Linked DNA regions of Homo sapiens: regions 1, 2, 3, 4, 5 and 7 are each linked to region 6. Evidence: promoter capture Hi-C in 16 types of primary human blood cells and fetal thymus (Javierre and others, 2016). All regions are on one chromosome and are shown on one strand. Each heading gives the region's core, a stretch centred on a gene start or on the middle of the fragment in contact. The rest is flanking DNA. Distances are from core to core; before and after follow the strand shown. Region 1 has its middle 4.2 kb from the start of H2BC17. Region 2 overlaps LINC01012 (long intergenic non-protein coding RNA 1012). Region 3 holds the start of H4C11 (H4 clustered histone 11). Region 4 holds the start of H2AC15 (H2A clustered histone 15). Region 5 has its middle 17 kb from the start of TRQ-CTG6-1. Region 6 holds the start of ABT1 (activator of basal transcription 1). Region 7 has its middle 3.5 kb from the start of TRQ-TTG3-3.

Evidence for each region. The method cuts DNA at HindIII sites, captures the fragments that hold promoters and counts their contacts. A CHiCAGO score of 5 or more calls a contact.
Region 1: a fragment that was not itself captured here is called in contact with the fragment with the promoter of ABT1 in region 6 in 2 of 17 cell types (M0 macrophages and non-activated CD4 T cells); the score reaches 7.9 in M0 macrophages.
Region 2: a fragment that was not itself captured here is called in contact with the fragment with the promoter of ABT1 in region 6 in 1 of 17 cell types (M0 macrophages); the score reaches 7.0 in M0 macrophages.
Region 3: a fragment that was not itself captured here is called in contact with the fragment with the promoter of ABT1 in region 6 in 1 of 17 cell types (total B cells); the score reaches 5.6 in total B cells.
Region 4: the fragment with the promoter of H2AC15 here is called in contact with the fragment with the promoter of ABT1 in region 6 in 1 of 17 cell types (M0 macrophages); the score reaches 5.8 in M0 macrophages.
Region 5: a contact is called between a fragment that was not itself captured here and the fragment with the promoter of ABT1 in region 6, in 1 of 17 cell types (M0 macrophages). The highest score is 5.4, in M0 macrophages.
Region 7: a fragment that was not itself captured here is called in contact with the fragment with the promoter of ABT1 in region 6 in 1 of 17 cell types (M1 macrophages); the score reaches 5.4 in M1 macrophages.

The regions. Positions count from the first base shown.
Region 1 is chr6:27,895,622-27,899,606 of GRCh38, forward strand. It overlaps the pseudogene RNU7-26P. Among named protein-coding and RNA genes, the nearest start is that of H2BC17, 4.2 kb to the left of the region's middle. RefSeq lists a cis regulatory region at 1-187. The HindIII fragment of the contact is 585 bases long and covers 2,085-2,669 here.
Region 2 is chr6:27,696,507-27,700,614 of GRCh38, forward strand. All of the region lies in intron 1 of LINC01012 (long intergenic non-protein coding RNA 1012), which reads left to right. Among named protein-coding and RNA genes, the nearest start is that of LINC01012, 4.5 kb to the left of the region's middle. The HindIII fragment of the contact is 6,157 bases long and covers 1-4,108 here.
Region 3 is chr6:27,820,631-27,824,543 of GRCh38, forward strand. It overlaps H4C11 (H4 clustered histone 11), which reads left to right and starts at 3,462. Exons shown (of 1, transcript NM_021968.4): 1 at 3,462-3,850. The coding sequence starts at 3,495. The coding sequence ends at 3,806. RefSeq lists enhancers at 3,182-3,321, 3,615-3,913. The HindIII fragment of the contact is 175 bases long and covers 1,198-1,372 here.
Region 4 is chr6:27,835,760-27,839,736 of GRCh38, forward strand. H2AC15 (H2A clustered histone 15) reads right to left here and starts at 2,616. Exons shown (of 1, transcript NM_003510.3): 1 at 2,121-2,616. The coding sequence starts at 2,580. The coding sequence ends at 2,188. It overlaps H2BC15 (H2B clustered histone 15), which reads left to right and starts at 2,810. Exons shown (of 1, transcript NM_003520.4): 1 at 2,810-3,351. The coding sequence starts at 2,903. The coding sequence ends at 3,283. RefSeq lists enhancers at 746-1,683, 1,772-1,861, 1,932-1,981, 2,252-2,361, 2,432-2,521 and 3 more. The HindIII fragment of the contact is 16,643 bases long and covers 1-3,977 here.
Region 5 is chr6:27,772,413-27,776,645 of GRCh38, forward strand. No RefSeq gene overlaps it. Among named protein-coding and RNA genes, the nearest start is that of TRQ-CTG6-1, 17 kb to the right of the region's middle. The HindIII fragment of the contact is 4,434 bases long and covers 1-3,697 here.
Region 6 is chr6:26,595,100-26,599,348 of GRCh38, forward strand. It overlaps ABT1 (activator of basal transcription 1), which reads left to right and starts at 1,854. Exons shown (of 3, transcript NM_013375.4): 1 at 1,854-2,124; 2 at 2,815-3,011; 3 at 3,166-4,249. The coding sequence starts at 1,884. The coding sequence ends at 3,546. RefSeq lists enhancers at 736-885, 986-1,145, 1,703-2,142. The HindIII fragment of the contact is 8,276 bases long and covers 1-4,249 here.
Region 7 is chr6:27,797,563-27,801,345 of GRCh38, forward strand. No RefSeq gene overlaps it. Among named protein-coding and RNA genes, the nearest start is that of TRQ-TTG3-3, 3.5 kb to the left of the region's middle. The HindIII fragment of the contact is 618 bases long and covers 1,959-2,576 here.

The DNA.
Region 1 (3,985 bases), core at 1,127-3,626, 1.3 Mb after region 6:
GAACATCTGAGGGGTGATTATCCTCCGAGTGGGTGAGAGAGTACGTGTGGCCTTCTCCTGCCATCTTGTGGCAAAAAAGCAAAAGCACAAGTTCAAGGCGTTGTGTTTTCCAGCCCCAGTTAAAATGCTTTCTTCTTAACTTTCTACTGAGTCAGTGGGCTAGGGCAGGGTTTCCATTTTTCACTCCTTTTAATTGCAGGATTCAAGTTTCTTCAAGAGTTGTTAGTGCGGAGGTTAAAAGGGAGCGGGAGGGGGGCGGGGGAGTTAATAGGAAGAGCGAGGAGTGGGTAAAGGAGAAAGTCCTGTTGAGCTTTGTGATCTGGTCAGAGCTGTCCAAAAGAAATAAACAAATAAAAAAAGCCAAAATGCTTTATACCCTAAAATAAATAATAATACGATCGTGCTTTCTAGTTCTATTAGATTAAGTCCCCACACTTACAACTCAATTTAACCTTAATTATCTGTTTAAAGGCCCTGTCTTCAAATACCAACCACACTGAGGGCTGGGACTTCGACATGAAGTTGTTTTCTTTTGTTTTGTTTTTTGAGACAGAGTCTCACTCTGTCGCCCAGGCTGGAGTGCAGTGGCGCAATCTCGGCTCACTGCAACTTCCACCTCCTGGGTTCAAGTGATTCTTCTTCCTCAACCTCCTGAGTAGCTGAACTACAGACAGGCACCTGCCACAGCGCCCAGCTAATTTTTGTGTTTTTAGTACAGACAGGGTTTCACCATGTTGTCCAGGCTGGTCTTGGACTCCCAAAGTTCTGGGATTACAGGCGCGAGCCACTGCACCTGGTCTGTTTTGGGGGAACACAATGAAGTCCATAACAGCACTTAAGACCATTTTCCATGCTTTCATCCCGACTTTCTATTCCAAGTTCTCCTTTATAAAATATCTACATTTAGCTTAATTTGCAGATAAGGTGACAGTTATGATATTCCTTAAACCAGAAGTTAAAAGTCAGTTGCTAACAAAGGCCCAGCACATTAGAGCAAAAACAGCTGGATATTAAAAAGCACGCCTTATCTCTATAAAGAGAGGTGCTATTTGCTATTTTTCTTGAAACACCCAGACTTCTGGCATATTTCATTTTTCCAGTTTTGATAGAGATACTTGACCAAGATATATTTCACTGTTTTCTTAATTCTGCTGTAAGAACAACCATAGCACAAGCATATTGATAAATGCCAACTAATATGGAAACTAACAGGACCAGTGGTAACTTGAGAACTGAAGACAAAACCTGTGCAATTTGATTTCACTGATTTCTCCCTTCTAGCAATGCAAGCACAAGGACAGTGTGACTTCCAATTTTTCAAGAGTATATGCAGCTTAATGTGAAATATTATAAATTTTCAATACTGAGAGCTAATAAAATATATATATCATGGTACAGACTATTAAAAAAAAATGTCTGTTGACTTCATCAAGTCCTTCACCTCTAAAGTAGAGATCTCATGAAGCCCTTCATCCTTGAAGTTGAGATCTCTGGACATTAACAAAGACTCCTGTATCCATGACAAGCTTTTCACCAAGCTGCTCTTTCTGCCATCAGGGCCCAGATCAAATGCCCCGGCCTTCCCAACTTTCTAAATTCTCAGCTGAAAATAATTCATTCCTCACTTGGCCCCTCTGGATAAAGCATCAGGCCTCACATACATCAGGCATTGAAGAGTTATTTTCTGCTAGTTAAGTAAACAGATACAGTGAACTAAAAGAAAAAACAAAAAATTCAGTTCTCACAGCTATGAGGTAAAAGTGGTGAAAGGTATTTGGAGTTGTTCATTGTGGATTGAGTAGTTACCTGGGTAAATAAGCCAGTTCTTTTCTATTTATGTTACATTTTCTTACTTTTTTATTAATGTTATTCTTTGTGGGGGTGGGGACTTCCCAGCAAAAACCAGAAGGCCTGCTAGACAAATTCTAAAAGAGCTGTAACACTATTTTTTATTATTAATATTATTCTTAATTGACAAATCATAATTGTATACATTTTTGACAGAGTGTGATGTTTTGATATATTGTTGGGGCTCAGAAACTATAACCCAAAATGAAGGCCTCAGCAGCAGCCTCAGAAGCAGAAGCTTTTCCCTGACCTCCTGCCCTTCCGTCTCTGATCTATCATTCTCCCTCAAGGTTAGCCACAGAAACTAGAATCTCTCTTCCCCAAGGCAGGTCATAAAAACCAGAATCCTTTTTCCCCAAAGCCAGCCGTAAAACCTACAAATATTACTCTAGCTCCCCTCACCCACCCTATTCCCCAAGGCTTTTTGTATGAAAACTGGCCATTTATGGTCAGAAATTATCTGCCCTACCTTGTTTGACTGTAGGTCATAAGACCCCTATTCCAGAGAGGGACCTGCCCCATACCCAGAAGGAAGGAATGCTGCTCAGAGAGGCCAAGAAGAATCTGGACAGACAGGCCTTGCTGGGTTTCCCTACTCTGTTTACTATCATTAGATCCTACCCTTCATGTCCATTCATTTCTACAAGGCTGTCCATACTTTATAGAACCTTAAAAACAATGGACAATTTCCCCTGTATCTTTAGGCCTTCATTTTGAAGGGCTCCCATGTCACGTACAACTGTGATCAAATAATTTTTTTTTCTTCTATTCATCTGCCTTTAGTCAGTGATTTTCAGCAAACCTTCAGAGGGTGAAGGGGAAGCTTTCCTTTACTGTGTAATGTAATTCAAGGAGTTTTTCTTTCTTTTCCTTTTTTTGCCTTCACTCTGTTGCTGAGGCTGGAATGCAGTGGCATGATCCCGGCTCACTGCAATCTCCACCTCCCAAGCTTAAGCCTCATGTCTCAGCCTCCCAAGTAGCTGGGACCACAGGTATGCACCACCATGCCCAGATAATTTTTGTGCTTTTCATAGAAGGGGTTTCACCATGTTGGCCAGGCTGGTCTGGAACTCCTGGACTCAAGTGATCCACCCACCTTGGCCTCTGAAAGCTGGGATTTTCATGTGTGAGCCACCGTGCCTGGCCTCTTGCCTCTATAATGTATACTGAAGGAGTCCAGGAAATATCATCCCAAAGTATGCCGCATTGTTATGCTGATTACTTCCCACTAAAGTTATTTGGGAAATAGCAAATGCACAGAGAGGGGCTTTTTCTCAATCTCCTTTATTTGACTAAATGCAGATTCTCCAGGAGAAAGAAGTCAATTAATCATGAAAATTCTTCCTAGGAATTTTTATCTATCTTGGGAAGTTTAACAGCAACAGAATTGGAACTGAGAAAAGACTAGAAATTGGCTCCTCCTCCAGATAGGCCACTATCTATTCTGAAAGTCCATTCCTGTTTTCATTATAGTACCCTTCCTAGGTCGCTCCAACTCCCCTTTCTCCTTACTCCTGTATTTAAATAGAGAAAGAATTTAAGTTATAAAGAGTTGATAAAATGCTGAATGATTCCGGTGATGAATGTGGAAAGGAGGTGGGGAGAGAGGAAAGCTAGTCTCAGTACCCTTTTCCTCCAAACCTGACCAGTTCTTGGCCAGAGAAATAGTCTCCCACACAAGGAGTCTCCAGGTGTGTCTAAGAAATTCTGAGGTTTGAAAATCTCTTTAGTTGGCATCCAAAAGAATAAAATGGGCAACTGAGGATTAATAATTTGAGGAATTAGAAAGTTTAAGTTCTATCCACTACTCACCCTGGCTGCCATCACCTCATTTTATGTAATTTACTGGATTGTCTGTTCTTCCTGGTCTCTTTTTCCTCAACTAAAAGTGATTTCCAAAGTCTCTTCCAGAAGAAATAGTTGGCTTCTGAAAATAGATCTCATCCATATGGATCACATGAAGCTATCACTAACAAATGTGACATATGATAAGATTTGTTTCAATCATGGAAAAAGTAGTTCTACACTGCCAACGTAAATAACAGAGGGAGGCTCTCTAAAAGAAAATATATTTTGGGGGAATAGAGCATTGTAATGGGAATATGCATGCCAGAGTAAACAAGTTGAGTATATAAGA
Region 2 (4,108 bases), core at 1,599-4,098, 1.1 Mb after region 6:
AGAAAAAGAAATCAGAGAAGGGCAATATGGAGTAGGGTAGAGTGAGGAATGGGTGTTGAGTTTTAAATAGGATGAATGCGGAAGACTTTACCATTATTTAAGCAAAGACTAAGGAATGAGGAGTGAATCACGGGGATTCCAGAGAAGGAACATTCTAGGAAGGAAATATGCCTTGTTTTGGAAGCCATGAAGAGCTCTATACTGTTGACTAGAGATTTGTATTTTGGGTCTGTGACAAATACACCAGGATGATCAGAATCTAGCCAGGAAGGGGTAGAGTTCATGAGAGGAAGGAAGTTGACATTGGCTGGTAAAAACAGACTCTTAAAAGAAACCTCTTTCAGGCGGTGGCTCACGCCTGCAATCCCAGCACTTTGGGAGGCCAAGGTGGGGGCGGATCATGAGGTCAGGAGTTCGAGACCATCCTGGTTAACATGGTGAAACCCCGTCTCTACTAAAAACATAAAAATTAGCCAGGCATGGTGGCCTGCACCTGTAATCCCAGGTACTCAGGAGGCTGAGTCAGGAGAATCACTTGAACCCGGGAGGCGGAGGTTGCAGTGAGCCGAGATCGCGCCACTGCACTCCAGCCTGGGTGACAGAGTGAGACCCTGTCTCAGAAAAAAAAAATAAGAAAATAAGAAACCTCTTTCAAAATAGGCTTTTGCCGGGCGCGGTGGCCCACGCCTGTAATCTCAGCACTTTAGGAGGCCGAGGCGGGCGGATCACGAGGTCAGGAGATCGAGACCATCCTGGCTAACACATGATCCGCCCCCCCTTGGCCTCCCAAAGTGCTGTCTCTATTAAAAATACAAAAAATTAGCCGGGCGTGGTGGCGGGCGCCTTTAGTCCCAGCTACTCAGGAGGCTGAGGCAGGAGAATGTTGTGAACCCAGGAGACGGAGCTTGCAGTGAGCCGAGATCGCGCCACTGCACTCCAGCCTGGGTGACAGAGCGAGACTCCATCTCAAAAAAAAAAAAAAAAAATGGCTTTTAAAAGAATATTTTTACTGACATTGAAAGTAATCTTGTATGTATGTGCTTATGGTAGAGGGAAGAAGAGAAAAGCTAGTGAAAGGAGAAGAAAGCTGACTTCCTGGAAGCTGTTGCAAAAAAAAGAATGATAGAATATTTTTTTTTTTTTTTTGAGAGGTTGTCTGGCTGTGTTACTCAGGCTGGAGGGCAGTGGTGCAGTCTCGGCTCACTGCAACCTCTGTCTCCAGAGATCAAGCGATTCTCCTGCCTCAGCCTCCTGAGTAGCTGGGATCACAGGCGTGCACCACTGGGCCCAGCTAATTTTTGTATTTTCAGTAGAGACTGGGTTTCGCCATGTTGGCCAGGCTGGTCTTGAACTCCTGACCTCAGGTGATCTGCCCACCTTGGCCTCCCAAAGTGCTGGGATTACAGGTGTGAGCCACCACACCCGGCTATTTTCACTGTTATTTATTTGTTAGGTGGCATACTTTCCAACTTTTTTCACAACACTCTATCTTAAGAGATTTCTATATTAATATACAGTGTCTTCATTTGTATATGGATATACCATAATATATTTAAGCCATTTCCTGGTGATGAACACTTGGGCTTTACTCATTTCCTGGTGATAGACACTAGGTTGTTTCTAATCTTTCACCACCACAAACAATGCAGTGAATAACTGTGTGTATGTATCATATATACATACACATATATATACACACACACAATTATATATGTACAGTTAACTATATATATAGCTTTATATATAAATATATACACACATAATCATATATATATACAGTAAACATATAACTGAAGAAACATATTTTTCCTTCATTCCCTGTATATAACACTATTACACAGAAAAATTTTGTTTTATTAAATAGCTAATGTCTGTTTTTTCCTAAAGTGTCACATTTCTTTAGGTCAGATGAACATAGATTAACAATCACATTTTAGCTGGGTGCCATGGTTTATACTTGTAATCCCAACGCTGGAAGGCCAAGGCAGGTGGATTATTTGAGCTCAGAAGTTTGATACCAGCCTGGGCAACGTGGCGAAACCCTGTCTCTACAAAAAAATTTAAAAATTAGCTGGGCGGCCGGGCATGGTGGCTCATGCCTGTAATCCCAGCACTTTGGGAGGCCGAGGCGGGCGGATCACGAGGTCAGGAGTTCGAGACCAGTCTGGCCAATATAGCGAAACCCCATCTCTACTAAAAATACAAAAGATTAGGCGGGCGTGGTGGCGGGTGCCTGTAATCCCAGCTACTCGGGGGGCTGAGGCAGGAGAACTGCTTGAACCCGGGAGGCAGAGGTTGCAGTGAGCCGAGATCACGCCATTGCACTCCAACCCGGACGACAGTGCGAGACTCGGTCTCAAAAAAAAAGAAAAAAAATTAGCTGGGTGTGGTGGTGTGTGCCTGTAGTCTCAGCTACCCAGGAGGCTGAAGTGGGAGGATTGCTAGAGCCCAGGAGGTTGAGGCTGCAGTGTGCTGTGACTGCGACAGAGCCTAGACGGGGTGACAGAGCAAGACCTGTCTCAGAAAAGAAAACAATTTTTTTTGTATTGTATGATGAGCTAACATATTGTAAACATATCCACTTTTCCATTCATGTTTAAATTTATATTGGTCCTCCAACCCGGACGACAGTGCGAGACTCCGTCTCAAAAAAAAAGAAAAAAAAATTAGCCGGGCGTGGTGGTGTGTGCCTGTAGTCTCAGCTACCCAGGAGGCTGAAGTGGGAGGATTGCTAGAGCCCAGGAGGTTGAGGCTGCAGTGTGCTGTGACTGCGACGGAGCCTAGACGGGGTGACAGAGCAAGACCCTGTCTCAGAAAAGAAAAATTTTTTTGTGTGTTGTATGATGAGCTAACATATTGTAAACATATCCACTCTTCCATTCATGTTTAAATTTATATTGGTCCTGCCACCTTGTTGAGCATTTTGCCTTTACTCTGCTTTGTATCGGGTGGTGGATTTGGATGGTGCTTATATATTGAGAGAAGGTTTATTTGCAGCTGAATTGTGCAGAAATGACTTTTATGGGAGTTGGCCTGGGTGAGCAGAACTAGCACTAGGTTATTCCTGATAACTTCTTTCTCTTTTTATAGACCTGCTTTGCTCAGAAAGGGAGATCAGGAGACCAGGTGATGCTGTAGCAAATGTCAGAGTCGAGTCCTAGGTAATATCCCACCTTTCCAGGATCTGCCTGCTTCATGGCAGCTGCCCCAATCTCCTTCACTTGGGCTAGACCCTGCCTAGCACACCACTAGTCACATGCATCTACTCAGGAATTGCAAGACCCTTCTATAGATGAATGAGATGTTTCTTGCCCAGCAGACTTTTCTCTTAACCGCCACTTTACACTTACCCTTCTTTCCATTTCTCTTCAGCCTTATTTAAACAAGCATAAACATCTTTTTATGAATCTTCTCATACTTGTTGTTTTTTTCTTTTTTGAGACGGAGTCTCGCTCTGTCACCCAGGCTGGAGTGCAGTGTTGCGATCTCAGCTCACTACAACCTCTGCCTCCTGGATTTAAGTGATTCTCCTGCCTCAGCCTCCCGAGTAGCTGGGACTATAGGCGCATGCCACCATACTCAGCTAATTTTTGTATTTTTAGTAGAGATGGAGTTTGGCCATGTTGGCCAGGCTGGTCGTTCCTTGCATGCATTTTTGTGCATGTGTGGCCTTCTCTTTAGAAAAGCAGGATCATGGGGTACGTTTTAAGAATATGGGATAGGTCAGGCTTGGTGGCTTATGCCTTTAATTCCAGCACTTTAGGGGAGGCTGAGGTGGGAGGATCATTTGAAGCCAGGAGTTGGAGACCAGCCTGGGCAACAAAGCAAGAACACCCACCCCATCCCTCTTTCCCTCAATTAAAAAAATAAAAAAAAATTAGTGGAGTGTGATGGCTTGCACCTATAGTCCTAGATACTCCAGAGGCTGAGGTGGAAGGTTGCTTCAGCCCAGGAGTTCGAGGTTACAGTGAGCTATGATTGTGCCGCTGTGCTCCAGTCTGTCTCTTCAAAAAAAAAAAAAAAAAAGAACGTTGGGTGTTTGAGGATGTGGTTGTGAACTGGGTTCTGGTAGAGTCAGGGCTTGCTCAAGACTTACCTTTTTCGGAAT
Region 3 (3,913 bases), core at 35-2,534, 1.2 Mb after region 6:
TTAGGAGGCTGAGGCAGGAAAATCGCTTACACCAGGGAGGTGGAGGTTGCAGTGAGCTGAGATCAAGCCACTGCACACCAGCCTGGGCGACAGAGCGAGACTCTGTCTCAAAAAAAAAAAAAAAAAAAAAAAGCCTTCATTTGATTATATTTGATTTTTATTTTAGCTATTAATATATTCTAATAGCTGTTTAGAAGTTATATCAAAACATAAAACTCTAAGCATTTATTCAAATATATTAGAAATTTAAATGACATAAAAATTGTTAAGTACTTTATTTGGACTAGTGCAAATAGCATAAATGTGAATTTAAATATATACAAAAAGTTAAGTAATTGAATATCAATAAAATATTAATAAACAGTAAATATAAATTTTCTATATGTGACTAGTGAGATCTACTAAGCTAGTCTAGCCATTTTTCTCAATTATCTCCATTATTTCCTAAAGTATCCTGTGGAGTAACTCTGATTGCCTTTACTCTCATTAAAAAGATGAGGAAATTAAGACAAAAACAGCAAAAGTATCTGCAACGAAGCCACAATTTCAGTCTAGGTTTGTTTGATTGCAGAGGCTGAACTCACTATTCTCCAAAGTAAATATTTACATGGAAACACTAAAAAACAAAGAAATTACATTTTAAATTGTGTCAAGATTACACTTTCTTTAGAGTTAAAAGAATTCCACAGTGTATCCATGCATGTAAAAAATATTAAATATATGAAAAGACGACTACTGCAATAGATAGGTATCATAAAGTTAATAGAATAATCTTCGGACTGTGATTTATAGATATTTTTTCAGTTTGCCTAATCTGAATTTCCTAAATTTTTAACTACGTACATGAATTTCTTTCTAGTTATTTGGACACCAACTGATGTACTTCAATTCAATTCAGGCACTGATTATTTGGAGTTAGCTGGACCTCACCAGTTAAAGGGCACATTTCCCAACAAGACTGTCCCAACTTCAGACGCCAGCTGCAAGTGGGGTTCCCAGGCCACTTGCTCTTCTGAGCAACTGGCTTCAAATCCAGGGATTCCCACTACCCCTTCATGTTCAATAATATGCTAGAATGACTCATAGAATATAGAAAGTGCTGTCCTTATGATTATAGTTTTATCATAAAGAATACAAATCAGGACCAGTCAGATGAAGAGACGCATAGGGCAAGGCTTGGAAGGGTCCTGAAAGCAAAGCTTCTGTGCCATCTCTATGTGGAACCAGGAGTCACCTCCCTAGGATATCTATGTGTTCACAAACCAATAAACTCCCTGACCTTGGTATCCAGAGCTTTTATGAGGGTTTTATTATATAGGCAGGATTGATTGAATCATTGACCATATGATTGAACTTGTTGGGGCACAGGGAAAGCTTCCCCTATGTACTCTGAAGCTTCACTGAAAATCACTGTCAAGAGGCAGATTAATAGAAGAAAAGGCATACACATTTATTTAACATGTACGCAGAAGCCTTCAGAATGAAGACCTAAAGATACAGGGGAAATTGTCCATTTTTATGCTTAGGTTCAACAAAGTATGGACAGCTATGTAGAAATATGACTGGACATAATGTGTATGATCTAATGCTAAGAGACTGAGTGGGGAAACCCAGCCAGGCCTGTCTAGATTCTTCTTGGGCGCTCTGTGTAGTATTTCTTTTGTATATGGGGCAGGGCCCTCTCTGGAACGGAGGTCCTACGACTTACAGTCAAACAAGGTAAGTCAAATAATTTCTTTGTGGCCAGTTTTTACACGAAAAAATAAAATTTTTAGGTTTCTTATTGTTTTTTTCTTTTCTTTTCTTTTCTTTTTTTTTGAGATGGAGTCTCACTCAGTTGTCTAGCCTGGAGTGCTGTGGTGTGATTTCGGCTCAATGTAAGCGCCGCTTCCCAGGTTCAAGAGATTCTCCTGCCTCACCCTCCTGAGTAGCTAATATTACAGGTATGTGACACCACGCCCAGTTAATTTTTGTATTTTTAGTAAAGACGGGGTTTCACCATGTTGGCCAGGTTGGTCTCGAAGTCCTGACTTTAAGTGACCTGCCTGCCTCAGCCTCCCTAAGTGCTGGGATTACAGGCATGAGCCAGCGCGCCCGGCCTAAACAAGCTTATATTAAAGATGACAATTTATTACTTATAAACAAATCAATAAATCTTGCTGGGTAACTAGTTCATTAACTCAAGACTCAATCAACAAAACTAAAAGTAAATTCTGAATGTAACATAGAATTTAAAAACCATAATACTCAATGCTGGTAAACATACACAGCAGTTACTGCTGGCAAAAGTGAATGGAATAAAACTTTTGAGGAAAATGTAGTAACAGTTATCAAAATACCTTAAAATCTGCATCCTTTGTGACAAAGCGCTTCAATTCTACATTTTCCTCAGGAAGTAAATTTTGTACAGTTCTCCTTTAAATTAGGAAAAGAAAATTAGCACATTATTGCTAAGTACTAGAAATACTGTGAAAGTGGACCTAGAAAATTCTTATGATGGAATATTAAGCAGATATAAATTACTGCTTTTAAAATTTTTCCTAATGTGAATTTTCTAAGCTTTTAACCGTGAACATAGATTCCCTTTGGCAAACCACCTTGATTAAATTATAGACAGAATAGAATTTTGGTAATAGTTCCGAGTATGTATAATGTTAAAGGTGGTACTTAATCCGCAGGGAAAAGATGAATTATTTAAAAAATCTGGTTGATTAATAAATTCCTAGGGAATTGGTTAACACTGTAGCAGGCAGAATTCAGGAGAAGAAATAATAAAGACATTAAAATCACTTTTGTAAACTTTTTAAATAAGGGAAATTGATTAAAACAACGCGAAGTTGTAAAATGCCATATACTGCATACATTTTGTGGGAAAAAATGTGCATTTATCTGCTCACCAAATTATCTTATTAGCTAGCAGTAGAGCTCTTTGTGTGATGGGAAGATGGGATAACAGGCTGTTGTTACTGTACTGGTTTTTTTTTTTAATATATTTAAAAAAAAGAGTGTCTCCTAAAGTGTAAGCGCTATCATGCTGGACTAATGTTTTAATTTAATTTAATTGTTGTCTTGGTAGAGATGGGGTCTCGCTATTTTGCTCACGCAGATCTCAAACTCCTGACGCCCAGGTACACTCCCATCTCGGCCTCCTAAAATGGTGGGATCACAGACGTCAGCCACCGAGCCCGGTCACTTTTTTGTATTCCCCACAGTATTGATGTATATCTTCTGCGTTCAAAAGCAATTTTTTAAAGCCTCATAACGTGGTAACAGAATACTTTGCACATTACAAAATTCAGAACACGGAAACAAGAAGCTCGCTTTTTTTTCCCCCCTATTTCGGTTTGGCCCTTTAGATTTCCCCTCCCCCACCGGGGCGGGACTTCCCGCCGACTTCTTTCAGGTTCTCAGTTCGGTCCGCCAACTGTCGTATAAAGGCGCTGCCTCAGGCCAGAGGCCTCACAAAGCGTTGGGTGAGACTCCTCTTGCTCGTCATGTCTGGCCGCGGCAAAGGCGGGAAGGGTCTTGGCAAAGGCGGCGCTAAGCGCCACCGTAAAGTACTGCGCGACAATATCCAGGGCATCACCAAGCCGGCCATCCGGCGCCTTGCTCGCCGCGGCGGCGTGAAGCGCATCTCCGGCCTCATCTACGAGGAGACTCGCGGGGTGCTGAAGGTGTTCCTGGAGAACGTGATCCGGGACGCCGTGACCTATACAGAGCACGCCAAGCGCAAGACGGTCACCGCCATGGATGTGGTCTACGCGCTCAAGCGCCAGGGCCGCACCCTCTACGGTTTCGGTGGTTGAGCGTCCCTTTCTATCAATAAAAGGCCCTTTTCAGGGCCACCCTACTTTCTCAGCTGAAGAGTGGTAACACTGAGGAGTGGTTTTGGTAGGTACGGAATTTTGCTTGG
Region 4 (3,977 bases), core at 1,366-3,865, 1.2 Mb after region 6:
TATTATCAACTTCAATGATCATAACAGCATATTTTATTTAAAAACTTATTTTAATTTCAAAAATCTTACAGGCCTTCTATGGAGCTGTATCATTTACTCTATATTGAGAAACAATTATTGAAAATTTATACACATAAATAACACAGATGACATTTTAAAAGGGAACAAATGAATTAATTCATTGAAATCAGGATGGAGTCCTCAACATCAAATAATAAATTTTTTTAAACAATGTGATATTTATGATTTTTGTGATTGCTGTTTTATTCCAAGAAATACTAGTTGTATGTGATTGCAATCAAGACTTAAATCTAGGAAATAAAAATGTGTGAAGAGACTCAAAAATTAATGTATTTCAATGGACTGGAGATCCTGTAGAAATTCATTTTCATTAACATGTCTGTATGAGGAAAACAGTAGCTTATATAAGTTTAGGTGGAGAGGAATAGAAGGCCCTCTCTATAGCTAGGAGGACTTGGTGATCTGAGAAGGAAAGGAGTGATCTTGGTGAAAGAAAGGAAGCAGGAAAAACTGACAGGAACAGGAGTATATGACCATGATATAATAAAAAACCTGACTTACAATGTCCTTCATTCATACTGTTTTTAAATAACACGTTCTAAAGTAATCTCACACCCTAACCCCAACCCTTTCCCATCATTTATATAAACAGTCCATTATGACATGTATTCTTTGCCCAAGCCAACTTGAAGCTCCTTTTGGATAGAGACTTTATGTATCTGGATTAATATTGTATTCCCATTTAGGAGAGTGCCTGGCACACCATAGATGCTCAGAAAGATTCAATTGAACTCGAATAGGTAGGCCAAACACACACGGGGTCCTAAATTGTGCAGAAGGGTCAGATACCTAAATTTTGCTTCCATGGTCTTATGAAGTATAAACTAAAAGCCCAAGTAAGGAGCAAAGGTTAGTTTACCAATTTTATCTCTGGAACCCAGGTACACTGAAAAGTATTATTTAGCTAGCTTTCAGTCCTCTGTAATACAGAAAGTAAATATCTGACACTAGGTTCATTTGAAACACTCTTGCTCTGTCACACAAGCTGGACTGCAGTGGTGCAATCATAGCTCATTGCAGCCTCGAACTCCTGGGCTCAAGTGATCCTTCTGGTCTCAGCCTCCCGAGTAGCTAGGACTACAGGCTATGAGACGCCAGGCACGGTTAGTTATTTTACTTTTGTAAAGATCAGGCTGGCTTCGAACTCCAAGGCTCTAGCGGTCCTTCCGCCTCGGCTTCCCAAAGCGGTTCTGTTTACCGGATGGTGCCAAACAGTTCCAGGCTCTTGGTGCCCGGTAGAAATTGGACGACACACACACAGATAGCAAAGCAAAGCAGCAAAAGTTTAGTAAACAGAGTATTACACTCTCGGGGGTGGGAGAGAGCGGACTGACCTCTGCGAGGTGAGATCAGCGTCAGCTTGCTGTAGTTTGAGTCATTTTATGTGTGTGCGTGCGTGTGTGTATGTTTTCTGTTCCCAGTGCTGCCTAATCTATAGCCAGCATCTGCCCTTTTATTGATAGGTTTGTTGCTTACTTTGTCCTCTGTGGCTTGTGCCTCTATCTTATAATCTTAAATATATGCATGATATGTAGCCCATATGCATGAACCTTAAGTAGCTGATTATCATACGGGCTTTTGTTAAGGATACTTTTCCTCTCTAATACGCATGCCCATCTCTGAAGAGCTGCCTCTTAAACTGGTTTGTTCCAGATCTTGCCGGCCACGAGGTCCTTGCTCACATTATCTCTTTTGTTTCGGCTGCAAAAGGTTCACTGCTTGTTATCTCGCTTCTTGTTCACCCGCCCATCTACCTTACTTCTGCCCTTTGCTTTTACTTATTCTGCCCTCTAACTTTCAGCTCCCTTTGTTATTCTCTTGCCTCACTTTTCTTATTGTTTCAGCTGTATTGCAGGCGCGAGCTGCCGCGCCTAAATTTCTTGATGTACCGTAAACATTTCAATGTCTACTTTCTATCTCAAAACAATGTGGTGTAAAAGCCGTTTAGTTTTGCTTCATCTCCATACAGCATTCCAGTGCCATTGCAAAATGACTCGACTATCAGATAAAACTGAACACAGCTCTACTTGGTGAAAAAGTAGGTGGCTCTGAAAAGAACCTTTTTGGTTTGGACCGAGGTATGAGTAATGAACTGCTCCAGCCCCGCTACTTGCCCTTGGCCTTGTGGTGGCTCTCAGTTTTCTTAGGCAGCAGCACGGCCTGGATATTGGGCAGGACACCACCCTGGGCGATGGTCACTTTACCAAGCAGCTTGTTGAGCTCCTCGTCGTTGCGGATGGCCAGCTGCAAGTGGCGCGGGATGATGCGGGTCTTCTTGTTGTCGCGGGCCGCGTTGCCAGCCAGTTCCAGGATCTCGGCGGTTAGGTACTCCAACACCGCCGCCAGGTACACCGGCGCTCCGGCACCGACCCGCTCAGCGTAGTTGCCCTTGCGGAGCAGTCGGTGCACTCGGCCCACTGGGAACTGAAGACCCGCCCTTGAAGAACGGGTCTTAGCCTTGGCGCGAGCTTTGCCGCCCTGCTTGCCACGTCCCGACATGACGTAAAAAATTCAATCAGTAACGTTCCTGAGACTGACGTAACGCTAAAGCTCCGCTACTTATAGTCAACAGAGGCACGAAAACTAAGCTGTGCTATTGGCTAACATTACAGTTTCGCTTTAACCAATGGGATTGCGGTTTTGAAAAACACTTATTTTGATTGGACAAAGTTAATATACGTTTCCAGGACTCACCACTGGTTAAACGCACAACTTCATTCTCTACCCCACTTGCGTTAAGAAGCAGTGAATAAGCGGTAGGTTGACAGAGCTACCGTCTTCCTGTTTTTTTCCTCCAATTTTCCGGCAGTTACTCCCAGTCATGCCCGAGCCCTCAAAGTCCGCTCCTGCCCCGAAGAAAGGCTCCAAGAAGGCAGTGACAAAGGCCCAGAAGAAGGACGGCAAGAAGCGCAAGCGCAGCCGCAAGGAGAGCTACTCCGTGTACGTGTACAAGGTGCTGAAGCAGGTCCACCCCGACACCGGTATCTCGTCCAAGGCCATGGGCATCATGAACTCCTTCGTCAATGACATCTTCGAGCGCATCGCCGGCGAGGCTTCCCGCCTGGCGCATTACAACAAGCGCTCGACCATCACCTCCAGGGAGATCCAGACGGCCGTGCGCCTGCTGCTGCCAGGGGAGCTGGCCAAGCACGCGGTGTCGGAGGGCACCAAGGCCGTCACCAAGTACACCAGTTCCAAGTGAGCCCGCCCACCGCGGAACGTTCGGTCAGTCTCGGCCCACACCCCAAAGGCTCTTTTCAGAGCCACTCAGTCTTCCCAAAGAGAACTGGCACTCACTGTTCTTACAGCAGGTATTTCTTACTTGCTACAAAGACGATTTCCAAGATTCCTTTAGCCTTGTTAGAAACTAATTTTGGCTCAAGCCTCTAATCCCGGTTCGGGAAACCGAAGCGGGTGGCTCACCTGAGGTTAGAAGTTCGAGACGAGCCTAGCCAACATGGTGAAACCCGTCTCTACTAAAAGTACAAAAAAATAGCTGGGCGTGGTGGCGGACGCCTGTAATCCCAGCTACCCGGGAAGCTGAGGCAGGAGAATCGCTTGAACCCGGCAGATGGAGGTTGCAGTGAGCCGAGATCGGGCCATTGCACCCCAGCCTGGGCAGTAAGAGCGAAACTCTGTCTCAAAAAAGAAAGAAAAAGAAAAGAAATTAATTAGCACTGCAGTGTACTGCATGTTGCAGCAACGCTTGAGACAATTTTATATCTGAAGAAGGATGAGGTTTATCATCAGACAAACCTAGTAAAGGGAAAATTCAGTTCCTGTTGACCCCAAAGAAAATATAATACTTAAGTGTCACTGGTAAAATATCCACAGTGCTTCCGGCGCTCTGTCCCTAAACTTCATGTGTACTTTAGTAATGAAGCAGTTGGCACACA
Region 5 (4,233 bases), core at 231-2,730, 1.2 Mb after region 6:
ATGCAGACACTAACCAATCCTTAACCAACCTCATCCTGGCCTCTTGATTTGTAGAGTCTTCGCTGAGGGGAGGAGGGCCTTACTCGTGATGTGTAAGAAGAGCAGCAACCAAAGGCTAACGTGAGAGTCACTTTTCAAAGCACCTTTTCAGCAAACAAGAATCAGCTGTCGAGTTACCAGCTCCTGTGGCTCCTTCCCCGCAGTCTCCACCAGGCGGCGCGCCCCAGGAAGCCGGACGCCTGCTACCGCGGGCCGCGTTTCTTTGTGCAAACTCAGCAAGGCCTGGCAGCCTTGGAGAGCAGGCCTTTAGCAAGCCGCGGAAACGCAACTGGGTGCCAGGGTTACTCGTTGCATTTGTGGTGGGCAGAGCTTCCTCCAAGCAGTCAGAGGAAAGCTCTCTGAAGGTGTGTAATTTCGTTTGGTAATTAGCATATAATTAGGTCTTGGGTAGGGCATGGGTCAAATCCAGCGCCACGTTGGACTCAGACGGTTTCAGACAGCTTAGCCCTCATCCTGTTTATTAGGGTCTTATCAGCCCAAGCTCTTCCTTGTCCTTGTAGCTAATTTTAACAGCTCCTTTAGGAGCTGTTAGGAGCTTAGGAAAGCTCTCCGACTGCTTGGAGGAAAGCTCTGCCCATGAGACTGCTCGGAGGAAAGCTCTGTCCACCACTACAGCGCTAAGGATATCGCCCAAGCTCTTTGCTAAATGTCTCTTGGGAAAAAGCTCCTCATGAAGCAGGTAAGACTGATTTGTAGTTTAATGACCTGCAGGTCCCCACATGAACACGAGGAAAGGGACGTGCAAGGCAGTGTTGAAGAAACATCAGCAGGTCTATTTGAGGTTCTCACCAGGTATCTTTCCTGATGGTGGGATGGGAACTTGGGGCCCTGTTGTAATTCCAGATCTGGGAAACTGCTGATTTCTCCTTCCCCCCAACTCTCCATTCCATCTCCTTACCACTCTCGTTATGATAATTGTCCCATGGTGCATTAATTCTTTTCCAGCCTTGTCGTTCAAACACTTATGTTTCCTGTAAGTACCATTAACAGCTTCTCTTGAACTGGTTTCTCTAAAAATTCCTCCTTTACCTTTCTTCTAAAGTGTCGGATCCTTTACCTTTCAAAAACGAGGAATAGGTCTCGTGGCTCATGCCTAGCGAGACCTCATCTCCACAAAAAATAATAATAAAAAAATTAGCCAGGTGTGGTGGTGTGGGCCTGTAGTCCTAGTTACTGGGGAGGCTGAGGTAGGAGGATCACTTAAGCCCAGGAGGTCAAGGTTATAGTGAGTTATGATCGTGCCACTGCACTGCAGCCTAGGTGACAGAGCAAGACCCTGTTCCCCACCCTCTGCAAAAACAAACAAACAAAAAAGCATCCTGATAAACATAGACATGAAATTGAAACATACAGGTGAAGGGTCACAGATTTATGCCTCAGTCTTCTCATCTGTAAGACAAAGACAGCCTCATCACTTTTAATGAGGTGAGCGAATGAGGGAGGAGACCACCCCTCATATTGTCTTATGCCCGATTTCTGCCTCCAAAGAAAGAAGAAGTAAAAACTAAAAAGCAGAAATGAAATCCACAGGCAGACAGCCCGGCGCCACGCCCTGGGCCTGGTAGTTAAAGATTAACCCCTGACCTAACACTGGTTATGTTATCTATAGTTTCCAGACATTGTATGGAAAAGCATTGTAAAAATCCCTGTCCTGTTCTGTTCCGTTCTGATTACTGGTGCATGCAGCCCCCAAACATGCACCCCCTGCTTGCTCAGTTGATCACGACCCTCTCATGTGGACCCCCTTAGAGTTGTGAGCCCTTAAAAGGGACAGGAATTGCTCACTCAGGGAGCTCGGTTCTTGAGACAGAAGTCTTGCCGATGCTCCAGGCCAAATAAACCCCTTCCTTCTTTAACTCGGTGTCTGAGGGGTTTTGTCTGCGGCTCTTCCTGCTGCACATTAAGTGAGGTACACCACTGCATATTACATGGCAGGTGCTCAGTCTCCTCCTTCCACTTCCTCACTGGTTTTCTAGTGAAGAGAGAATGAAGGGGTGGGTTGCCCCTCCACACCTGTGGGTGTTTCTCGTAAGGTGGAACGAGAGACTTGGAAAAGAAAAAGACACAGAGACAAAGTATAGAGAAAGAAATAAGGGGACCCGGGGGACCAGCGTTCAGCATATGGAGGATCCCACCAGCCTCTGAGTTCCCTTAGTATTTATTGATCATTCGTGGGTGTTTCTCCGAGAGGGGGATGTGTCAGGGTCACAAGACAATTGTGGGGAGAGGGTCAGCAGACAAACACGTGAACAAAGGTCTTTGCATCATAGACAAGGTAAAGGATTAAGTGCTGTGCTTTTAGATATGCATACACATAAACATCTCAATGCTTTACAAAGCAGTATTGCTGCCCGCATGTCCCACCTCCAGCCCTAACGCGGTTTTTCCCTATCTCAGTAGATGGAACGTACAATCGGGTTTTATACCGAGACATTCCATTGCCCAGGGACGGACAGGAGACAGATGCCTTGCTCTTGTCTCAACTGCAAGAGGCATGCCTTCCTCTTATACTAATCCTCCTCAGCACAGACCCTTTACAGGTGTCGGGCTGGGGGACGGTCAGGTCTTTCCCTTCCCAAGAGGCCATATTTCAGACTATCACATGGGGAGAAACCTTGGACAATACCTGGCTTTCCTAGGCAGAGGTCCCTGCGGCCTTCTGCAGTGTTTGTGTCCCTGGGTACTTGAGATTAGGGAGTGGTGATGACGCTTAACGAGCATGCTGCCTTCAAGCATCTGTTTAACAAAGCACATCTTGCACCGCCCTTAATCCATTTAACCCTGAGTTTGACACAGCACATGTTTCAGAGAGCACGGGGTTGGGAGTAAGTTCATAGATTAACAGAATCTCAAGGCAGAAGAATTTGTCTTAGTACAGAACAAAATGGAGTCTCCTATGTCTACTTCTTTCTACACAGACACAGTAACAATCTGATCTCTCTTGCTTTTCCCCACAGAGAAGGCCCATGCAACACAGACCTAAACCCCTTTGAGAGGAAAATAGGGCATTTGGTGGAGGGGAGGGGAGGAGTCCTGGCTTGCGGCTATAAAAATGTTTTTCCACTCAGATTATTTTCTGAAAGAGGCTGAGATCAGGCACCTGAGTCACTGAAGGGTTCATGCTAGTGGAGTGAGAGGGCCAGGGGAACAAGGAAGGTGATAAATCTCATCTCTATTTGATAGGAATGCTGGGTAGTCATAGGAGAAACATCAAGCAGTAATTTCACATAACAGCAAAAAAGGAGCTGTTAAAATTAGCTACAAGGACAAGAAAGAACTTGGGCTGATAAGACCCTAACAAACAGGATGGTGGCTAAGCTGTCTGAAACCGTCTGGGTCCAACATGGCGCTGGATTTGACCCATGCCCTACCCAAGACCTAATTATATGCTAATTACCATACGAAATTACACACCCACCAGCGCCCTGACAGATCGAGTACGCCCATATTTAATATAAAAATGGGTGGCATCTCAATTTTATGAAACCTTCGCCTTTCCCCCAGAAAACCTCATGATTAGTCCACCCTCTAATTACAAGAGCCCATAAAAATAGAAAACTCAAACTCTGTTGGGCACGACTCATTCTCATGAGCTCACCCACACTTCCCTAAGTGTGTACTTTTGCTTAGCAATAAAAGCTTCTTGCCTTTGGCTTCATTCTGACTCCTCCCTGAATTCTTTCTTACGAAGGTGTCAAGAACCTGGAAACTGGCTGGGGCTGGGGCTGGGGTCTCACTGGCTTCTGGAAACCCTTCTGAGCCCTCTGGCAACACCTGTAGTGTAAGCAGCAATTCAGTGCTGTGATGCCTCGGTCCCAGACCTTTTTGGCACCAGGGACTGGTTTCATGGAAGACAGTTTTTCCATGGACAGGGGTTGGGGGAGAGGGGAATGGTTTCAGGATGATTCAAATGCATTACATTTATTGTGCACTTTATTTCTATTATTACATTGTGATATATAATAATTATACAACTCACCATAATGTAGAATCAGACGGAGCCCTGAGCTTGTTTTCCTACAACTAGATGGTCCCATCAGGAGGTTATGGGAAACAGTGACAGATCATCAGGCATTAGATTCTCATAAAGAGTGGGCAACATAGATCCCTCAAATGGGCAGTTTACAATTGGGTTAGAACTCCTATAAGAATCTAATGCCTCAGATGATCTGA
Region 6 (4,249 bases), core at 604-3,103:
GCTTCACAGACAGTTGAGTGGGACTCGATTTTCACCAAGTTGAGAAGGGATCATGAGGAATGTGGGGAACGGGAAGAACACGCTGCCCCAAGGCTTCATTTTTTTTTTTTTGTCGGTTTCACGGTCCTTTAGCACCCCCTGTTATATTGATACTTGGTGTGAATAAACATTTTATTAATGATAATTTCAAATATATACAAAGTAGAGAAAATAGCTAATAGCTACCATTAGCCACCACACTGGCACAACTTACCGACACTCTTGCATCCATCATGCCCCTCCCCTAGCTCCAGATCTTTTAAAGCCACCCCAACACGTGTTCTCATTTCATTAACTGTACTGTGTTTTGAAGATGTCAGTGTTTATAATTAAATAGCAGTAGACGGAGTTTATCGCTCTCATCGTACCCCGCTCCTCTTCAAAAAAGGAGCAGTGGACACCTACCTGACAGAAAGTTCTCTTCAATAAAGTTAATGAAACAGGCGTGTTTGAATTCGAGAAGTCTATTATTAGACTTTTAGACACTCCATGAAAGAGTGCAGGGCCCTGTTACTTTAGAAATATACTTGGGGACTGGCAAAAACTGTCATCTCTGATTTTAATAGTGGACACATTTACTCCCTGCTTCCATTCTCTGGGCTACTCTGCGCTCTTGGAGCGAGATGGGAAATTTTGTCAGGCCGCAGCAAGGACGGATTTATGTTGATAGTCATCAAACTCGCCCCGGGCTGCTTCCAGAAAGCTAACCGGATTACTTGTACGCGGTTCCCAGCACTGTCCTTTGCAGTCAGCTTGTCGCTGGCGCCGATGGGAAGAACTGAAACGCCTCAAGGGTGGGGACGGCGCCCCCTGCTGGTCGCGCCCTCGGGCGACGATAAGAGACTGAGGACCCGAGCCCGCGCGGGGAAAACTGCCCTGAGCTTGGCTTAGGGATGGTCCGCAGGCCGCCTGGTGGGAGCAGGACCGCCGTGGCCCGGTCCGTTCTGCGGTTGCGTAGGTCATAGAAGGAAAAGTGGTTTGTGATCTGATAGGGAATCTGAGGACAGACCCAGGGAGAGCAGAAATAAGCGCGCCGCCGGGGGGTCGCCAGAATTGGAGGCTTGTGCGCCTCTGACAAGTATTTGCAACATAAGTATGCATATGGATAATGTATCAATACACACGTGTAATAGATGCCAAACAAATTCTTCAAATAATTGTCACACATTTAAATTTTCAGACATTCACAAAATCAAATGTAAAATATTAAACTGAAAGTTCACAACTTAAATTTTCAAAAATTAAATCTAATTAAATTTCCAAAGTTGAACTGTTTTCAAAATTAAATTTTAAAATATTCAAAATTCCGAGGTAAATTTCCAGAAATAGTTAAAACCTCAAAACTCAAAATTTTTAAATGAAATTTATAAACTTTAAAAGGTGAGTCATTCCTCAGCTGGAATCGCACCCGGGGCCCTTGAATAAAATGCTATTTTGATCGCTAGAACACATAGAAACTTCTCTAAAATTGTTCTGCAAAATTCCCTAAAAAGCCGGCATCAACCCGCCTTTTAGCGTCTCGACAAGGCGTTCTATAGGGTAGGTTATATTTGGGGATCTGCCTTTTCTGGTTCTGCCTGTCCTGAGTTGGAGATCTGACCGGGAATCTGAGCCTAACCCAAGTTTCCCATCCCGCTTCCACGCTCTGAATCAGGCTTCCGACCTGACACACCACTTCCTCCCTCTCCCCTCGGCCTTCCCCTGGACCCGACTGTATTGCCCAATCATTTCCTTTCATTTGTCATCACCACCTTGGACCCGCCCCCTCGTCTCAGGCCGTCGCACGCGTTTTGCGTCAGTTGGCAAGGCACTTTACGGCCGTCGTGCCGCTCGTGTCAGTCAACATGGAGGCAGAGGAATCGGAGAAGGCCGCAACGGAGCAAGAGCCGCTGGAAGGGACAGAACAGACACTAGATGCGGAGGAGGAGCAGGAGGAATCCGAAGAAGCGGCCTGTGGCAGCAAGAAACGGGTAGTGCCAGGTATTGTGTACCTGGGCCATATCCCGCCGCGCTTCCGGCCCCTGCACGTCCGCAACCTTCTCAGCGCCTATGGCGAGGTCGGACGCGTCTTCTTTCAGGCTGAGGGTAAGTATGCAGGCCCTGACGGTGACAGGAGGAGGTTGTCGCTCGCTGGCGGGGTGCAAGCATGCATGTCCTGTTGCTTCGCTGCGCGAGGCTGAGGCACGAGTTGCTGGATTTTGGGGGTGGGGAGTGCGGTGCTTGGCTCCTGGCTGGTGAATCAGTCTGTGAGGATGCTGGGGTGGGCGGGCGGAGGGGATATGGGGAGAGTGGGTAGCGCAGTGTGTCTGGTGGTTCTTTAGTTCTCGGATTGTTACTATTTGTGTTCTTATCCCGGCTCTGTTCACCTCTCTTTCCGGACCTGTTTACTGGTTTGTTACATGAATACAACCTGAGTAAAAGTCTCGTCAGCTTTTCTACAAAACTGAACATAACTCTTTAGCATTGCTGCCTAGGTCAAGAAACTATTTGATCAACCGCCCCTCTTCTTTCCACCCTCAATTTTACATTGAGGCTGAGGACTTGTGCCGGTTTTAAGCAGCGTTCAGGGCTGGCCAGATTAAGGAGTGGACAATTAAGGAAAGAATTGAGTTAGCTAGAGGAAAGGGTGCGATTTACAGTTCCCTTCCTCCTGGGCAAAAACTCTTCAGGTGGGACTCCCACTGGCAGATGTGAAGAACGTTGCGGGCAGTGGGAGGTGCTTTTGAGTGAGTGCTGCATAGGCGTCCTGGACGGGTCTTTGTCTTTGGCGCGCAGACCGGTTCGTGAGACGCAAGAAGAAGGCAGCAGCAGCTGCCGGAGGAAAAAAGCGGTCCTACACCAAGGACTACACCGAGGGATGGGTGGAGTTCCGTGACAAGCGCATAGCCAAGCGCGTGGCGGCCAGTCTACACAACACGCCTATGGGTGCCCGCAGGCGCAGCCCCTTCCGTTATGATCTTTGGAACCTCAAGGTGAGAAGATAGATCTTTCTGCCACACCTCTCACCCTCCCTTCTCCCCAACTCTGGCCCAAGTATCCCCATGGCCTCTCATTGGCCTTGTCCCCTTGTCTCATCTTTCTCCCTAATCTGCACTATCCTGATCTTTTCTTCTTTTCTGCCCACAGTACTTGCACCGTTTCACCTGGTCCCACCTCAGCGAGCACCTCGCCTTTGAGCGCCAGGTGCGCAGGCAGCGCTTGAGAGCGGAGGTTGCTCAAGCCAAGCGTGAGACCGACTTCTATCTTCAAAGTGTGGAACGGGGACAACGCTTTCTTGCGGCCGATGGGGACCCTGCTCGCCCAGATGGCTCCTGGACATTTGCCCAGCGTCCTACTGAGCAGGAACTGAGGGCCCGTAAAGCAGCACGGCCAGGGGGACGTGAACGGGCTCGCCTGGCAACTGCCCAGGACAAGGCCCGCTCCAACAAAGGGCTCCTGGCCAGGATCTTTGGAGCCCCGCCACCCTCAGAGAGCATGGAGGGACCTTCCCTTGTCAGGGACTCCTGAGGGCCTGGGTGGCCCCTTCCATTTCCTGGCCCTGCTCTGCTTCCTGTCTACCTCATACTAGAATGATCGTGACTACCCGGGCAGACATTTTACTGTGTTTCTCAGACCAAGTGTCTACTGATGGCCCAAACATGGAGTTTTGTGGGCTTCCACTGTCCCCACTCCGAACTCCTGTATGTGCCTGGCTGAGTCACCTAATTCATACTGTCATACTAGCATAATTATGACTATTGCATATGCTTGTTTTGTTTGACTCTTGGCTGCCTACGTCTGTAGGGTCCCCTGAAAATCCCACTTCCTGCCCCCAGAAAGGGCCTTTATTTCCAACTAGGAGGATAATGCCTAGTCCAGGCAATCTTTCTCTGTTTAGCAGTCACAGGTGAGGGTGGTATTAGCATCTTTTTTATGTAGAAAAAATTGAGTTAATGGGGTGGACTGGGTTGGGAAGAAATACATTTCCTAATGTATTTATAGAAAATAAAAATATTTTTATGTGCCTTTTTATTTTTGTTGGTGGGGAGGTCATTGGACAAGTTCCAACTTTCATCTTGTGTTCCCTTCACCTTCATATCCTGATCTTAGAGCCCCCCTCCCCCTGCCACCCACCTTACTGTTTAACCTGGATTTTTTTTTCTATTTAATTTTTGTCTAATATCTTAGCCCAGTTTATCAATCAGTTATCTTAAGTCAGCATTTTCTAAGC
Region 7 (3,783 bases), core at 1,018-3,517, 1.2 Mb after region 6:
CAATGTACATCTTAACATATTGATTGAAGTCTCATGTCTCCCTGTATAAAACCAAGCTGTGCCCCTACCACCTCGGGCACATGTCATCAGGAGCCCCTGAGCTGTGTCATGGACACGTCCTTAACCTTGGCAAAATAAACTTTCTAAATTGATTGAGACCTGTTTCAGATACTTTAGGTTCACACTACTCTCTCAGTGTTGCCCAAAAAGCCTGTCTCAAATTTTTTGCCACCATAAATAATGCCTTAGTGAATATCAGTGTTCATGTTTCCTTTGTTATGTATCTTCAAAAATGGTGTTTACAAAATTGTTGGCCTGGGAGTCTGAAAGAGTGGGATAAAATGCGGAAAAGTAAAAAACTTTAAGTAGATGATTAAAGAAAATTCCCCCAAAGATACCCTCTATGTGCTATGTACTGTTATTATATGAAGCAATAATAAGACATTTGTTGGGTATCATTCACTCAGTATTGCATTTAATGCACTGGTCTTGGTGATGGGGTACAGCTGAGACCAATACTCCTTTATTAGAATTTATCCCTTTATGCATCATTGTACAAGAATATCATTTGCTTTCCTAGATCTAGATCTTAGCAGGGGCAGAGCCATTTTCTCTTTTTTATTTTGTGGTGCATTTTTTCAGCAGCTATTTAGAAAATGTGCAGGTTTTTGAGGCTCTATGTAGGAATCATTTTGGGCTAAGAGCCAAGAAGGTGAACGATGAAGCTCAAAACTTCTTACCCACCCCATGGCTGTCTTTGCTCCCACCACTATGGCCTAACCTGCTGTTCCCAGAACATGCTAAGCAGAGCCTGCCTCTGGTACTTTGCACTCATAGTTCCTTCTGCCCCAAACAGCTTCCCCCAGGTAGCAATATACTCTCTCACCAGTTTATGCCAATGACAGTTCAATGAGACCTCATTTGTATGCCCTCCTTAAAAATGCAATCTCCAGCTCCCTATCCCCTTTCCTGCTGTATTTTTATCTAAACCACTTATCAAGGTGATGACATGTTATGGAATTTAATCCCACCTCAAAGTACCATAAGAACAGGAATTTTAGCAGGCTATTTTCAGCGTGTATTCTCAATGCTAATATATTGTCTCTCATATATTAAGTGCTCAATAAATGTTTTTTTGGTTAAGTAAGTTAATTTCCTTTAAGCTGGCTGATGGGGTCATATAGAGGTAAAATTACTGGCTCTGAGTGATTTTCCTCACTTATAAATATAATTTGCAGTAATTTCTATATTATTCTTTTCCTCTTAATGCATGGTGATAATTATTTCCCTGTTACATATGTCTTTTTTGTTTGTTTGTTTGTTTGTTTGAGACAGAGCCTCGCTCTGTTTCCCAGGCTGGAGTTCAGTGGCGCAGTCTTGGCTCACTGCAACCTCTGCCTCCCGGGTTCAAGTGATTCTCCTGCCTTAGCCTTCTGAGTAGCTGGGATTACAGGCATGTGCCACCATGCCCAGCTAATTTTTGTAATTTTAGTAGAGACGAGGTTTCACCATGTTGGCCAGGCTGGTCCTGAACTCCTGACCTCAAGTGATCTGCCCACCTCGGCCTCCCAAAGTACTGGGATTACGGGCATGAGCCACCATGCCTGTCCTACATATATCTTATTCATTGTCTTATTCAATCATACAACTTCCTGATAAAATGAGGCTGATTTTCACCCCTATTTTGCTGTTAAGGAAACTGGTATAATGAGTGTCACTGACTTGTTTGTGATCACACAGTGGACAAAATGGCATTTGTTTCTTTGTGGTGATCTCACAAAGGTCAAGATGACCTTAGATCCTCAGTTTTGGCTGTTTTTTTTTTGTTGTTTTTTTGTTTGTTTGTTTGTTTTACACCAAGGAACCAGGTTCTAGCTCCTATGTTTGTTCATTGCATGGAAAGGAACAGGAAGATCTGGGGGCCACTGAATGGAAGGTTAGATCCATTTTCTTGGTTAAGCTTGTAGGTTTTCTCGTCTCTTTTCCTTCCTGCAGCACAATTCTTATGAATGGCAATATCTTCTATTAAAATTCTCAGTCTGTAGTCTTCTTGTCCATACAGAAAATAGATTTCAGGTCAACACATTTGATAGTCTGGACTGTGCTAACTGCTCCAATATTTGAGTACATCTTTTGGGGATGTGGGAATTTAGTGTTGTAGGCCTCAAGTGGGGTTCGTTCCCAGAATTTGGAGAGGCTATAGAAATATAACCTGGTTGGCCAGGCACGGTGACTCATGCCTGTAACCCCATCAATGTGGGAGGCCGAGGCAGGTGGATCACCTGAGGTCAGGAGTTCGGGACCAGCCTGGCCAACATGGAGAAACCCTGTCTCTACTAAAAACTTTTAAAAAATTAGGCGGGCGTGGTGGTACGTGCCTGTAATCCCAGCTACTTGGGAGGCTGAAGTAGGAGAATCCCTTGAACCCGGGAGGTGGAGGTTGCAGTGAGCTGAGATCACACCATTGCACTCCAGGGCAACAGAGTGAGACTCCATCTCAAAAAAAAAAAAAAAAGAAAAAGAAATATAACCTGGCCATAATATAAGCATAAATAAAATAGATGACATTCTTTCAAAGCTTTTCTTAGCCTCTTATGTTTCTCAGATATTAAATAATCGGGCCAGGCACAGTGGCTCACGCCTGTAATCCTAGCACTTTGGGAGGCCGAGGCGGGCAGATTAACTGAGGTCAGGAGTTCAAGACCAGCCTGGCCAACATGGTGAAACTCCATCTCTACTAAAAACACAAAAAATTAGCCAGGTGCAGTGGCACGCGCCTGTAATCCCAGCTACTCGGGAGGCTGAGGCAGGAGAATCGCTTGAACCTGGGAGGTGGAGGTTGTGGTGAGCAGAGATCGTGCCACTGCACTCCAGCCTGGGCGACAGAACGAGACTTCATCTCAAATAAAAATTTAAAAAAAAAATAGTCAAATGCAAAATAAAGTAACATTCCAGCAATTTAATGACAGATATTGAAGCCACCTTTGCAAAATTATGACTGAGACAGAGAAAGAGATGGAATTTAACCAACTCCGTCTTGCTTCTAACCTCCAAGCCATCCTTGTTCATTCCTGGGTGTAGGCTGAACTAATTTAGGGAGAAACTTAGTTTGTAGTTTATAGTTTAAACAAAGATGGTAACAGCCCTTTCCCAAAGCAGACCTCCTTCTTGCCTTGGGACTGGATTGCCTTTGTAGGACTAACATTAGCCACAAGATTAAAAATTATGGCAGCTGGAGGCTACAAGATTCTAACCCTCCCTAACTGCTCCTAAGATCAGTGCTTGAGATATTTTGCAGACGCTGCACTCAAGATGGGTCAGATAGCACCACCCAGATCTATTAACTGGCTCATCTGATCCTGTAGCCCCCACCCAGGAACTGACTCAGCACAAGAAGAGAGCTTCAACTCCCTATGATTTAATCTCTGACCATTCAGCACTCCTGGCTCACTGGCTTCCCCCCATCCACCAAGTTATCCTTAAAAACTCTGCTCCCCAAATGCCCAGGGAAACTGATTTGAGTAATAAAACTCCAGTCTCCTGCACAGCCAGCTCTGTGTGAATTACTCTTTCTCTATTGCAATTCCCCTGTCTTGATGAATCAGCTCTGTCTAGGCAGCGGGCAAGGTTAACCCCTTGGGTGGTTACAATATGTACATGGGAAAGTGGTTGGCCTGCTTGGAATTGGAACAAAGGCAAACTAAGCATGATGATTATCAATGAGTTGCAGCCCAAAACCAACCAAGGAAGGACTATTAGTTCATGCTAGATTGCCTGTGTGGC